4 separate regions of the Homo sapiens genome follow, and all the other regions are linked to region 2. Evidence: promoter capture Hi-C in 16 types of primary human blood cells and fetal thymus (Javierre and others, 2016). All regions are on one chromosome and are shown on one strand. The core of a region is centred on a gene start or on the middle of the fragment in contact, and the rest is flanking DNA. Distances in the headings are between cores, read along the strand shown. Region 1 overlaps USP11 (ubiquitin specific peptidase 11). Region 2 holds the start of GNL3L (G protein nucleolar 3 like). Region 3 overlaps UXT (ubiquitously expressed prefoldin like chaperone). Region 4 overlaps TBC1D25 (TBC1 domain family member 25).

Region 1 (2,715 bases), core at 1-2,500, 7.3 Mb after region 2:
TTTGCCATGCCTCCTGTGCCACCTCCTGTTGATAGTGTCATGGTGGGTGGTGGGGCTTGCCCAGGGTAAGAGGAAACCATGGCTTGGGGTGCATTCAAATGGGGTGAAGCGGAAGGCCACTGCTAAAGTCCAGAGGCAGAGCTCCAGCTAGGGATACACAGAGACTATGTTCACGGTCAAGACTGGGGGTCATTTAGGGCAGGAGACTGCGCTGGGGTTTACTCTGGGTTGACTGTGGGGGCAGATATGGTATTGCAACTAAGGTTAAGAGTAAGGCTGGAGTTGAGGTCAGGTAGAGAAACTTAACAGAAAATGGTGGCGTGTTAGATACCCCAGGGAGGCCAGAAAATCCCCGAGGCAGAGGCCTTGGTGATGTTAATTGGACTGCAAATGCGGGGGCAGCCTACCTGATCCGGTCGCCCAGCAGCATCGCACAGCTCCACATACTCCTTCTTCTTCACCCGATTAAGGTCCTCATGCAGCCCGTCCAGGAGGAATGACAGCAGCTCCTGAGAGTCATGCTGCTGGTAGCCCAGAAATTGGGATGCAAAATGGCCAACCTTGTTCTAAGAAGATGGGCAGGGTCATCAGAGAGAGAGGGAGTTAGGAGAGCCAAGAGACGTAGGGGGTCGGGGGTGCCCAGGGTTGAGTCACACCTTGAACACATGTGGCACAATGGAGCGGTGGTGGCCAGACCACGCCTGCTTCACCAGGTCTGCATAGGCCTCTGCGATCTCACCCTTCATGCCCAGTGGGTTGCGGAAGTTGAGCTCCTCCAGGTAGCAGTTGTTGAGGAAGTACTCGGTGAGCTGTGGCACATTGCTGAGGCACTGCAGAGGCCAGAGACCAGGTGAATGAGGCAGAGGGGAGACAGAAGGTTCAAAGTGAGGATACACAAAAAGAAGCCAGGAGGAAAGAGAGAGGAAAACAAGAGAGAAGGGGAAGGGAGGAGAGAGAGGAGCAGGAGAGTAGGGGAGAGAAGGCATTAGGATTTCACGAGAAGGAAGAACGTGGGAACAGGGAAGAGAAGAGGGAAAATGAGGGCAAGCTGAGAGAAGAGGCTGATAGTTCAGGAATGAACGTGGGCGTGCCACTTCAGACTTGTGGGGCCTCAGCTTTCATCCTGACCCCTTGCCCTGTAGTCCCCTCAGGACCCCAGCTCTGTCCCCAATCCTCAGCTCTTGAAGCCCAACCACGTGGCTGTGCCAGACACAACTATAATGGCCCAACCTGCAGGGCCGAGTTCATGAAGCACGTGTTGCCCAGATTGGTGAGGCCACAGATGCCTGGCTGACCCTTGAAGTCCTCATCCTCTTCCGACATGTTGTTGTTCCTGGGGTTAGATGAGAAACTGTCAGCTGAGGGCCTGCTGCATGGGGGTGCAATGTGCTCATGGGCTAAATCATTTTGCCTACTGTGGGACGCCCCCGCTCTGGACCAGATACCCCAAGGGCTCACATGACATGCAGCTGTGCGCTGGGCCAAGTGCCATCTTTCTTGCGGGTCTCCATGATGATCAACTGGGTTGGAGAAAGAGAAAGAAGGAAAGGTATTAATGGAGGACATTATGGGTACCTAGCCTTCATTTCCCCCGAGTACTGCCAGGTGAGTCTATCTGCCAGTCCACCTGAACAGAAAAGCCCTCCCCACCCTTACCTGCCCAGTCTCAAGGGCCGCATCGAGAACCGTGATGTGTGTGTCATACAACCTATCCAAAGAGCCTTCTGAGTTCTTGGCCCAAAGCCGAGTGTCTTCCTGGGGCTCCACCAGAAACCGCTCCCGAGCTGTGCGCAATACTAGGCCTGTGCGGGGTGATGGAGTACATTCAAGATCTTTGTGAGACCCAAAATGATCAATCCATCTGGGCATACCTGACTCATCCCTACGGACCTCACATGCTTGGCCAATACCTGTGTCCTCAATCAGTCTCCAAATGACTGGCCCACACTCCAGACTGGAGATCTCCAGCAAATATCCTCTGCCACACCACGTAAGCCACTAGAATGTAGCTCACATACCCTCAGGGCTCTAGTAGATCCCCTCAGTGCCTCCACCCAACTTAGCCAATGCCTTCTGGGTCTTCCAAAGTCTGACCAGTGCCTTCTCAGTCAGCTTCAGCTTAACCCTATGCAACCTCAAGTCACTGAGTTGGGACTAGTAGCTAGGAACACCAACCCATTGCGTGACCCTTAGACTCACCAATAGAATCGGTATGGCTGAACTGAACAGTGTGAGATTTGCCCAAATCATTGTGCCGGACAAGCAGCAGTTCTACTGGGTACACTTCGACCTTCTGGATGTTGGGCAGCTCTATGACCTGTAAGAGTAGAGGGGTGCAGACACAGGTGTACTCACACAGACACAGCGCTGTGACCTCTCAAATGAGAGGAGCACACACTCTGCCTTACAAACATAGCATACAAACACACATATACAATGGTCTGTAAAGAGAGCCACACAGGGGAACACACACAGCAGACAAAGATACCTGTATGATGAGCTAGGAGGGGGAAGAGAGCAGACATATGTGTACCTACCCAGCATACATGGATCTGTACCCATGCTGGGCCTACAAGGCTTTCTTACTACGCACTCCCCGCCATGCACCCTCCCCATCCATTATACCTTGCGTTCAATGGGTGGCTGGCCATGCTCTAGACCATACCAGCTGACCAGGTAATGCCAAGCAGCTGCTGGGAGCAGCACATAATCCTC
Region 2 (2,712 bases), core at 185-2,684:
CCTGCAGTGAGCTATTCTGGACCCTTCTATGGAAGGTGGACTGTGACAACTTTCATCTTTTATGCTGGTTGAAGTCAGCGGCACACTAACACTGAAAGAAATAGGGGCTCTGGTTCTCTGCATGGGTGGTGTGTGGAGGGGGCTGGCAATGCAGCTATAAATTAATAGATCAGCCCTAATACTTGGGGGTGGGGGCGTCTGTGATTCTACCCTGGGTGGAGAGAAACAGATCTGAGCTCCACTACCTTGGGTAAAGGGGAGAGACCATACGCACTGAACTGCCAGGTAATCAGCGATGTCACTCCCTCTCAACATTACAGGGAGGGAGACCTGCATATCTGCTCCTGTGGGGTATCTCCCTTGCTACATTTAGTGATTCTAAATCTTTGGGGGAGGTAGGGGGAGGTAGGGGGATGATCTGTGTCTACCTCAAAGGGAGAGGAACACATCTGAGCCCCTCTACCCCCACGGCCCCTCAAGGGGCAGACCTGACTGTCTCTTCATGGATTAAGGTCTGTTCCTGTTTGCTTCGAAGCATGTTGGGTGCTTCGAAAAATTACACATTCGGTAAAACGGGGGCTACGGAAGTAGGGATCAGGTCTGATTCTCCACAATGGGGACTCACTCTAACCTAAGAGGAGGGGGCAATTGGCTTAGTTGTCCATAAGCTGAGGCCTGTAACTGCAACCACTTTGGGGACGGGTGAGTTGGGGAGCGATACTGAGGGCTCTGAGTCTACGCGTATGGGGAGGAGGTGCCCTCCCTCTGTATATTAAATGTTTCTAAGCTCCTCTATGCTGGTATGGGGGCAGATACATCAAAGCCTCTGTCTGTCCTGAGGAGGTGCCTCGAGACGGCTGTCTAGAGCCAAGCCAAGGAAGTGCCTTAAGTCGGGAGAAGTCTGCGCTGCTCAGCTGGGTGGAGGGAGATGTCTCTACACGGTTGGGGTGGATGTCCCCCATGCCTTTGGTGGGTCGACTCCTGTCTATACAAGGTGAATGCAGAATGAAGCCTCACTATCTTGAGGACGATCAACGCTTCACCACACAAGTGAAGTTTGTGCCTCTCTACACAGTGTGTCCCGGGTCTACACCTTTCTAGGTGGGATGGGGCAATGCCCCTCTCCCGGCAAACTCCACTCCGCGAAAAGGCAATTCGGCGCGTCTCCACGTGTGCCGCGATCCCTGCCCCTCTTCCGGTCCCTTCTACCCTGGAAGGGATCCTGCTGTTTACCTCTCTATTCCAGGTTGGCGGGCATCTCTGGTTTCACATCCAATAGACGATCCTAACTGCCCGGCCGTCTAGGTGAGCGCACATTGTGAGAAAAGAGGAGAGAAGTTTCTTACTTACACTTCCGGCGGGGATCTGAGAAGCGAGGGCAACACGACAACTCGGTTGAGCGAGCAGAAACTCTCGCGCAGCTAGGCTCCGACTTCCGGATCCCAGGCCGGCGGCGCCCGACTCCGCCCACCGTGCGGTCTCCGCGGGGGGGGGGGGGGGGGGGCGGAGCTTCTGACTGACAGCTCACGCCCGCCCGTCCCTTCTTCGCGACCACGCTGGCCCCGCCTCCTGCCTGCCCCGTAGTTAAGGAAATAGCGGAGGAGGGAGAAGGAGGACGGGGAAATGACCGGGAAGAAGCGGCGGGTCGACTGGTGCGGCCATATACCTTACTTGCAAGCCAAAATTTTGTCTGCGGGCATCTGTCTGGGGTTAAATATGCGTGCTCCCAAATCTCAATAACCAGGCAGTCACCACGCCCGAATCAGACAAGGGTGGGGGATGGTGTCTTTGTCTGCCTGGAAGATGGCGACAGCAGGGTGTGAGAAAATGGCCGCCTGGGTCACGTGTCTGGCCGAGTATTTCCCCACCTGAAGTGAATTGGTTAGCTATTCCCAACCACCTTCCCGGGTCCTTGAGCCCCAGACCATCCCTGAGCACTCCTAGCTTTTTCTGCATACGTTCAGATCTATGGCCATACCCAACCCGAGCTGGAGCAGGAGCCAGAACGACTAGAAGCCTCTCCCACACTAGAAGCCTCTCCCACCCTTTTGCCTTCTTCCCCTCCTACTCCATCCTTCCCTCAATCCCGGAGCAGCGTCTGCAGAAGGGAATGAATTTATATCTCTGGAGTGGGGCAAGTAGGGGTTTCTGAAGCCATCTCAAGGAGCTGGCTGGGAAGTGAGGTCTCCCCCACAAAATAGTAAATATTAGTCTGCAAATGTTTTCTTCTTGATGGTTTAATTCCAGCCCCTCCTCTTCCTCAAGCCTAAACCCTGGGGTGGGGCACAGAGTAGGTGGAACTCTGTGCCTCCGAGGGTGGGTTTGTTTCTCCACTTCAAGCACAGACGGGCTGAAAATGACTCCATCTGTCCCTTTATCCCTTACATAAACAGGACTCACTACCTCTCTACATCGTTGGAGGGCTTCTAACCTCTCATCCTAGAGACACATGAAATTCCTCTGGACCTGAAACCAGCCCTGACCACTTTCACCTTTCCCCCTGCATTTGCAATTTTGCTCTGTTTCTCTAAGACCTAACTCTTGTCACTTCGATGAAACCTTCTCTGACTTTCGCAGATGAGTTAGAAACCCAGAGCACCTTACCTATACAGCTAAGCTAGCACTTATCACAATACTGTAGTTGTTTATGTGACTGTGTCTCCACAGGAGGGTGAACTCCCTGAGAGCAGGGGCCATGTATCTTCAAGCTTT
Region 3 (2,700 bases), core at 153-2,652, 6.9 Mb after region 2:
TGGTGTCTCGCTGTGTTGCCCAGGCTGGAATGCAGTGACTGTTTACAGCTGCGATCATAGCATACTACATCCTCAAACTCCTGGGCTCAAGCAATCCCCTTGCTTCAGCCTGCCAAGTAACTGGGACTACAGGCGCACTGCTGTACCCGGCTTTGTGTTTGTTGAAATAATTTGAAAGGGTATGCTGGAAGCATATTAAAGTGGTTATTGAAGCAGATCTGTGTTGGGGGTGATGGGGAGAGAAAATGTGGGCTCCAGTTGAGTTTAAGGCAGGAGTGTCCAATCTTTTGGTTTCCGTGGGCCACATTGGGAGATTTGTCTTGGGCCATACATAAAATACACTAATGCTAATGATAGCTGATGAGCTAAAATAAAAAAGTTGCAAAAAAAAATCACATAATGTTTTAAGAAAGTTTATGAATTTGTGTTGGGCTGCATTCAAAGCCGTCCTGGACCGCATGTGGCCCACTGGTTGCAGGTTGGACAAGCTTGATTTACGGTTTTGTGCAGGGAAGGGCAGTTGGGAGCATAGATGAGGGATTTGAAATGTAGCTAGGGAAGGCCTCCCAGAGGAAGGGACATTTGAATCATTTGACTGAGTGACAAAGCCATGGGGCTATCTGGCGAAGAGCATTCCTGGCAAGAGGAATAGTGTGCCTGGTATGCTAGTGAAACTACCAAGAGAGGTGAGCTTGGTTTCAATGGAATGAGCATGGGGGCACTGAGCAATACACTTAGATTAACAACATCTCACAAGTGTGAGTACCATTGATTTAAACTTCTTTGTTGGTTGTGTTTTGTGTTTATGTCTGTTCTACATTCATTTTTTCCAGAGTTGCCTCCCTTAGAGTTTCAGTAATTTTTATCTTTTCAAACCTTTCCAGCCATGGGAAGGACTAGCAGGTGCTAGTGGACCCAAAAGAACCTCAGACCTGCTGAGATTTCTGATTCTTGGTGTTCAGACCAATTAGCAAATAGTTTAATTAAACGGCCTGCTTTCATGGTCAACACAATTCTGAACTGGTGGTCATTTAGACCAAGTCCACTTTGTTTTTGAGACGGAATTTTGCTCTTGTCGCCCAGGCTGGAGTGCAGTGGTGCGATCTTGGCTCACTGCAACCTCTGCCTCCTGGGCTTAAGGGATTCTCCTGCCTCAGCCTCCCAAGTAGCTGGGACTACAGGCACCCACCACCACTCCCGACTAATTTTTGTATTTTTAGTAGAGACAGGGTTTTGCCATGTTGGCCAGGCTGGTCTCAAACTCCGACCTCAGATGATCTGCCCACCTCAGCCTCCCTAAGTGCTGGGATTGCAGGTGTGAGCTACCGCGCCCAGCTAAAGTCTAGTTTGTATAAGAAGGCTTTCCTTGTTATGTCACAGGATTCCTGAGCCTATCAAATAGATTTTAATGTTTTGAGACTCCACGTACTTCCCCAAAATGAAGTATTTAAATTGTCAGTGCCTGCCCCCTTGCCTGGTCTTTTTGATGTACTGACCTGGTCTGTTAGTGTGATGAAAAATATGGTTGAGTCTTACTGCTTTATTGTAATTAGTAGGACTGTCTAGAAGTTTAATTTTTCTAAGAGATGAAGATTTGAGTCTATGTAGCTGGCTGTCCTTTAAAAATATTTGGTTACTTGGGATATACTTTGAACTAACTTTCTGGTCATTTTATGTGATCAAAAGTGTCAGTTCTTCCTGTTCTTAGTATATTTCTTTGTTTGGGAAGTGGAAGGGATGAAATCTCTATATTCTTTCCTGATGACACAGAAAGGAGTACACATCCACATCTCATGAATAGACATGTAATTATAGAAGAAACAGCCTAACGGCCGGGCGCGGTGGCTCACACCTGTAATCCCAGCACTTTGGGAGGCCGAGGTGGGTGGATCACGAGGTCAGGAGTTCAAGACCAGCCTGTCCAAGATAGTGAAACCCCGTCTCTACTAAAAATACAAAAAATTAGCCGGGAACGGTGGCAGGCGCCTGTAATCCCAGCTACTTAGGAGGCTGAGGCAGGAGAATCGCTTGAACTCGGAGGGTGGAGGTTGCAGTGAGCCGAGATCACGCCACTGCACTCCAGCCTGGGCGACACAGTGAGACTCCATCTCAAAAAAAAAAAAAAAAGCATAACCATATGACTATTCACACTGCCTTACATACTAAATCAGTAGTAATTTGCTTCTCACATAGCAAATAAAAATAAATCAGCAGTAATAAACATATCCCTTTTGTGTTACAGCTAGCATTTGGTGAACTCTGTATTTTTCTCCCTTTTAAAGTGTTGAACTCATAGGTTTTCATAAGGTAAGCTTACACCATTAACTAATTTTGTTCTCTTTTTTGATGTTAAAATTGTCCCTTAGGAGCTGATCAGGTTCATTCTTCTGTTCTTTAAGCATTACCCCCAGAATATTCTTGAAAGTATTCTTGCTCTCTGGCAACAACACCCATACTTCATTTATTTCCTGTCCCTAAACATACACTCAGCCAACCTCAGGTTCCTTTTAATGGAGTAGTCACTTATTCATTCAACATACGTTGGGTGCCTCCTCTGTGCCACACACTGTTCTGGTCCCTGGGGATAGAGCAGGAAACAAAAAAAAACAAAATCTGCCCTCATACAGCTGACATTCTAGTCAGGGGAGACAAACAATAAACAAATGAATGATGTAGTATGTCAGATGTTGACAGTGCTAT
Region 4 (2,700 bases), core at 65-2,564, 6.0 Mb after region 2:
ACTAAAAAATACAAAAAAAAATTAGCCAGGTGTGGTGGCAGGTGCCTGTAATCCCAGCTGCTTGGGAGGCTGAGGTAAGGAGAATCGCTTGAACCTGGGAGGCAGGGGTTACAGTGAGCTGAGATCGCGCCACTGCACTCCAGCCTGGGCAACAATGTGAGACTCCCTCTCAAAAAAAGGAAAAAAAAGGCCGGGCGCAGTGGCTCACACCTGTAATCCCAGCACTTTGAGAAGCAAGGCGGGCGGATCACAAGGTCAAGAGATCGAGACCGTCCTGGCCAACATGGTGAAACCCCGTCTCTACTAAAAATACAAAAATTAGCTGGGCGTGGTGGCGCGTGCCTGTAATCTCAGCTACTCAAGAGGCTGAGGCAGGAGAATCGCTTGAACCTGGGAGGCAGAGGTTGCAGTGAGCCGGAATTGTGCCACTGCACTCCAGCCTGGCAACAGAGTGTCTCAAAAAAACAAACAAACAAACAAACAAAAAACAGGCAAAGAATGTCTACAAACACAAACTCACCTAGTAGCAAAACCTGATCTGAACTGACAGGAGACTATATATAGTCTTTATATAACCCACGTAGTGTGAATATGCACACATTTCCCTGAAGAAACATCCAAGTGTTTCATTGTGGGCTGCTTGGCTGCTGGCCCAGACCCTGCTTGTGGTATTACATAATATTCATGATACGCGCATTTCCTTATCATAAAATTGTCAAACTTCCCAAACCCTAAATTAATATATAAACTCAGTGCAATGCCAGTCAGAAATTGAATGGGGGTTTTTCCTGGAACCGGATAAAATTATCTTAAGGTTTCTATAGAAGAATTCACATTTAAGAATAGCTAAGACAGGCTGGGCGCGGTGGCTCATGCCTGTAATCTCAGCACTTTGGGAGGCCGAGGTGGGTGGATCACGAGGTCAGGAGATCGAGATCATCCTAGCTAACACGGTGAAACCCTGCCTCTACTAAAAATACAAAACATTAGCCGGGCGTGGTGGCGAGCGCCTGTGGTCCCAGCTACTTGGGAGACTGAGGCAGGAGAATGGCGTGAACCCAGGAGGTGGAGCTTGCAGTGAGCCAAGATTGTGCCACTGCACTCCAGCCTGGGCGACAGAGCAAGACTCCATCTCCAAAAAAAAAAAAAAAGTTAAGACAAAGAACAGTGGGAGGATGGCAAAAGCTTATCGCCTGTAGTCCCAGCTACTAGGGAGGCTGAGGCAGGAGAATGGCGTGAACCCGGGAGGCGGAGCTTGCAGTGAGTTGAGATTGCGCCACTGCACTCCAGCCTGGGCGACAGAGCGAGACTCCATCTCAAAAAAAAAAAAAAATTTGACCACAAAACCACTGTCATAAAAATAACATGGTGTTAGCACAGCAGTAGACAAATAGAGCCCATTGGTAGAATGCAATAGAAAGCCCAGAAATAAATCCAAGCTTGTATATATGGAAACTGAATATGTGACAAACGTGGCATTTCGAATCACTGCAGAAAAGGTGATTATTTAATAAATGATGCTGGCAGGCCGGGCGCAGTGGCTCATGCCTGTAATCTCAGCACTTTGGGAGGCTGAAGTGGGTGGATCACCTGAGGTCATAAGTTCGACACCAACCTGGCCAACATGGCAAAACCTCATCTCTACTAAAAATACAAAAATTAGCTAGGCATGGTGGCGGGCACCTGTAATCCCAGCTATTTGGGAGGCTGAGTCAGGAGAATTGCTTGAACCCAGGAGACGGCGGCTGCAGTGAGCTGAGATTGTGCAACTGCACTCCTGCCTGGGCGATAAGAGTAAAACTTCGTCTCAAAAAAAAAAATTAAATTAAAAAAAATGATGCTGGCATAATTGACTATCTTGATTTTTTTAAAGCTAGGTCTGCTTATCACAATGCTGACAGAGAAAAGATTTATATGTAAAAAAGAAAACAATAAGCATAGTAGAAGAAAATATAGAATATTTGTATAAGCTTATGGATGGGGAACATGTTCCAAAGTAATAGGAGAAACTCAGCCAGGCACAGTGGCTCATGCCTGTAATCCCACCACTTTGGGAGGCCCAGGCAGGTGGATCACTTGAGATCAGGAATTCGATACCAGCCTGACCAACATGGTGAAACTCCATCTCTACTAAAAATACAAAAGTAGCCAGGTGTAGTGGCACATGCCTGTAATCCCAGCTACTTGGGAGGCTGAGGCAGGAGAATCACTTGAACCCAGGAGGCGGAGGTTGCAGTGAGCCGAGATCGCGCCATCGCACTCCAGCCTGGGCAATGAGAGTGAAACTCTGTCCCTCCACCTGCAATAAAAAGGAGAAACTCAGAAATCATAAAGAAAAAGATAGATATCTGTGTAGGCGTGCAATCAAATGTTTAATTTTGATAGGACAAAACAGATCCATCCCGTAAGCAAAGCCAAAAAACAAAAGATCAACTGGGAAAAATATTTGCAGTACCTATGATAGAAAGGAGGTTGGGGGCTGGGCACGGTGGCTCCCGCCTGTAATCCAAACACTTTGAGAGGCCGAGGTGGGTGGATCACTTGAGGTCAGAAGTTCGAGACCAGCCTGGCCAACATGGCAAAACCATGTCTCTACAAAAAATACAAAAATTAGCTGGGCATGGTGGTGCACACCTGTAGTCCCAGCTACTTGAAAGCCTGAGGCAGGAGGAGAGCTTGAGGTCAAGGCTGCAGTGGGCC

The links. The method cuts DNA at HindIII sites, captures the fragments that hold promoters and counts their contacts. A CHiCAGO score of 5 or more calls a contact.
Region 1: a fragment that was not itself captured here is called in contact with the fragment with the promoter of GNL3L in region 2 in 1 of 17 cell types (neutrophils); the score reaches 7.4 in neutrophils.
Region 3: a contact is called between a fragment that was not itself captured here and the fragment with the promoter of GNL3L in region 2, in 1 of 17 cell types (neutrophils). The highest score is 11.7, in neutrophils.
Region 4: a fragment that was not itself captured here is called in contact with the fragment with the promoter of GNL3L in region 2 in 1 of 17 cell types (neutrophils); the score reaches 7.0 in neutrophils.

Annotation. Positions count from the first base shown.
Region 1 is chrX:47,239,392-47,242,106 of GRCh38, reverse strand. USP11 (ubiquitin specific peptidase 11) reads right to left here. Exons shown (of 21, transcript NM_001371072.1): 3 at 2,626-2,715; 4 at 2,200-2,317; 5 at 1,657-1,802; 6 at 1,459-1,520; 7 at 1,231-1,333; 8 at 657-830; 9 at 408-566; 10 at 1-25. Among named protein-coding and RNA genes, the nearest start is that of USP11, 7.7 kb to the right of the region's middle. The HindIII fragment of the contact is 8,680 bases long and covers 1-2,715 here.
Region 2 is chrX:54,528,941-54,531,652 of GRCh38, reverse strand. It overlaps GNL3L (G protein nucleolar 3 like), which reads right to left and starts at 1,434. Exons shown (of 16, transcript NM_001184819.2): 1 at 1,234-1,434. RefSeq lists enhancers at 1,029-1,288, 1,299-1,358, 1,809-1,858, 1,513-2,033. The HindIII fragment of the contact is 4,164 bases long and covers 1-2,710 here.
Region 3 is chrX:47,653,636-47,656,335 of GRCh38, reverse strand. The region is part of intron 5 of UXT (ubiquitously expressed prefoldin like chaperone); the gene reads left to right. Among named protein-coding and RNA genes, the nearest start is that of UXT-AS1, 3.8 kb to the left of the region's middle. The HindIII fragment of the contact is 1,824 bases long and covers 491-2,314 here.
Region 4 is chrX:48,549,113-48,551,812 of GRCh38, reverse strand. All of the region lies in intron 3 of TBC1D25 (TBC1 domain family member 25), which reads right to left. Among named protein-coding and RNA genes, the nearest start is that of TBC1D25, 11 kb to the right of the region's middle. The HindIII fragment of the contact is 254 bases long and covers 1,188-1,441 here.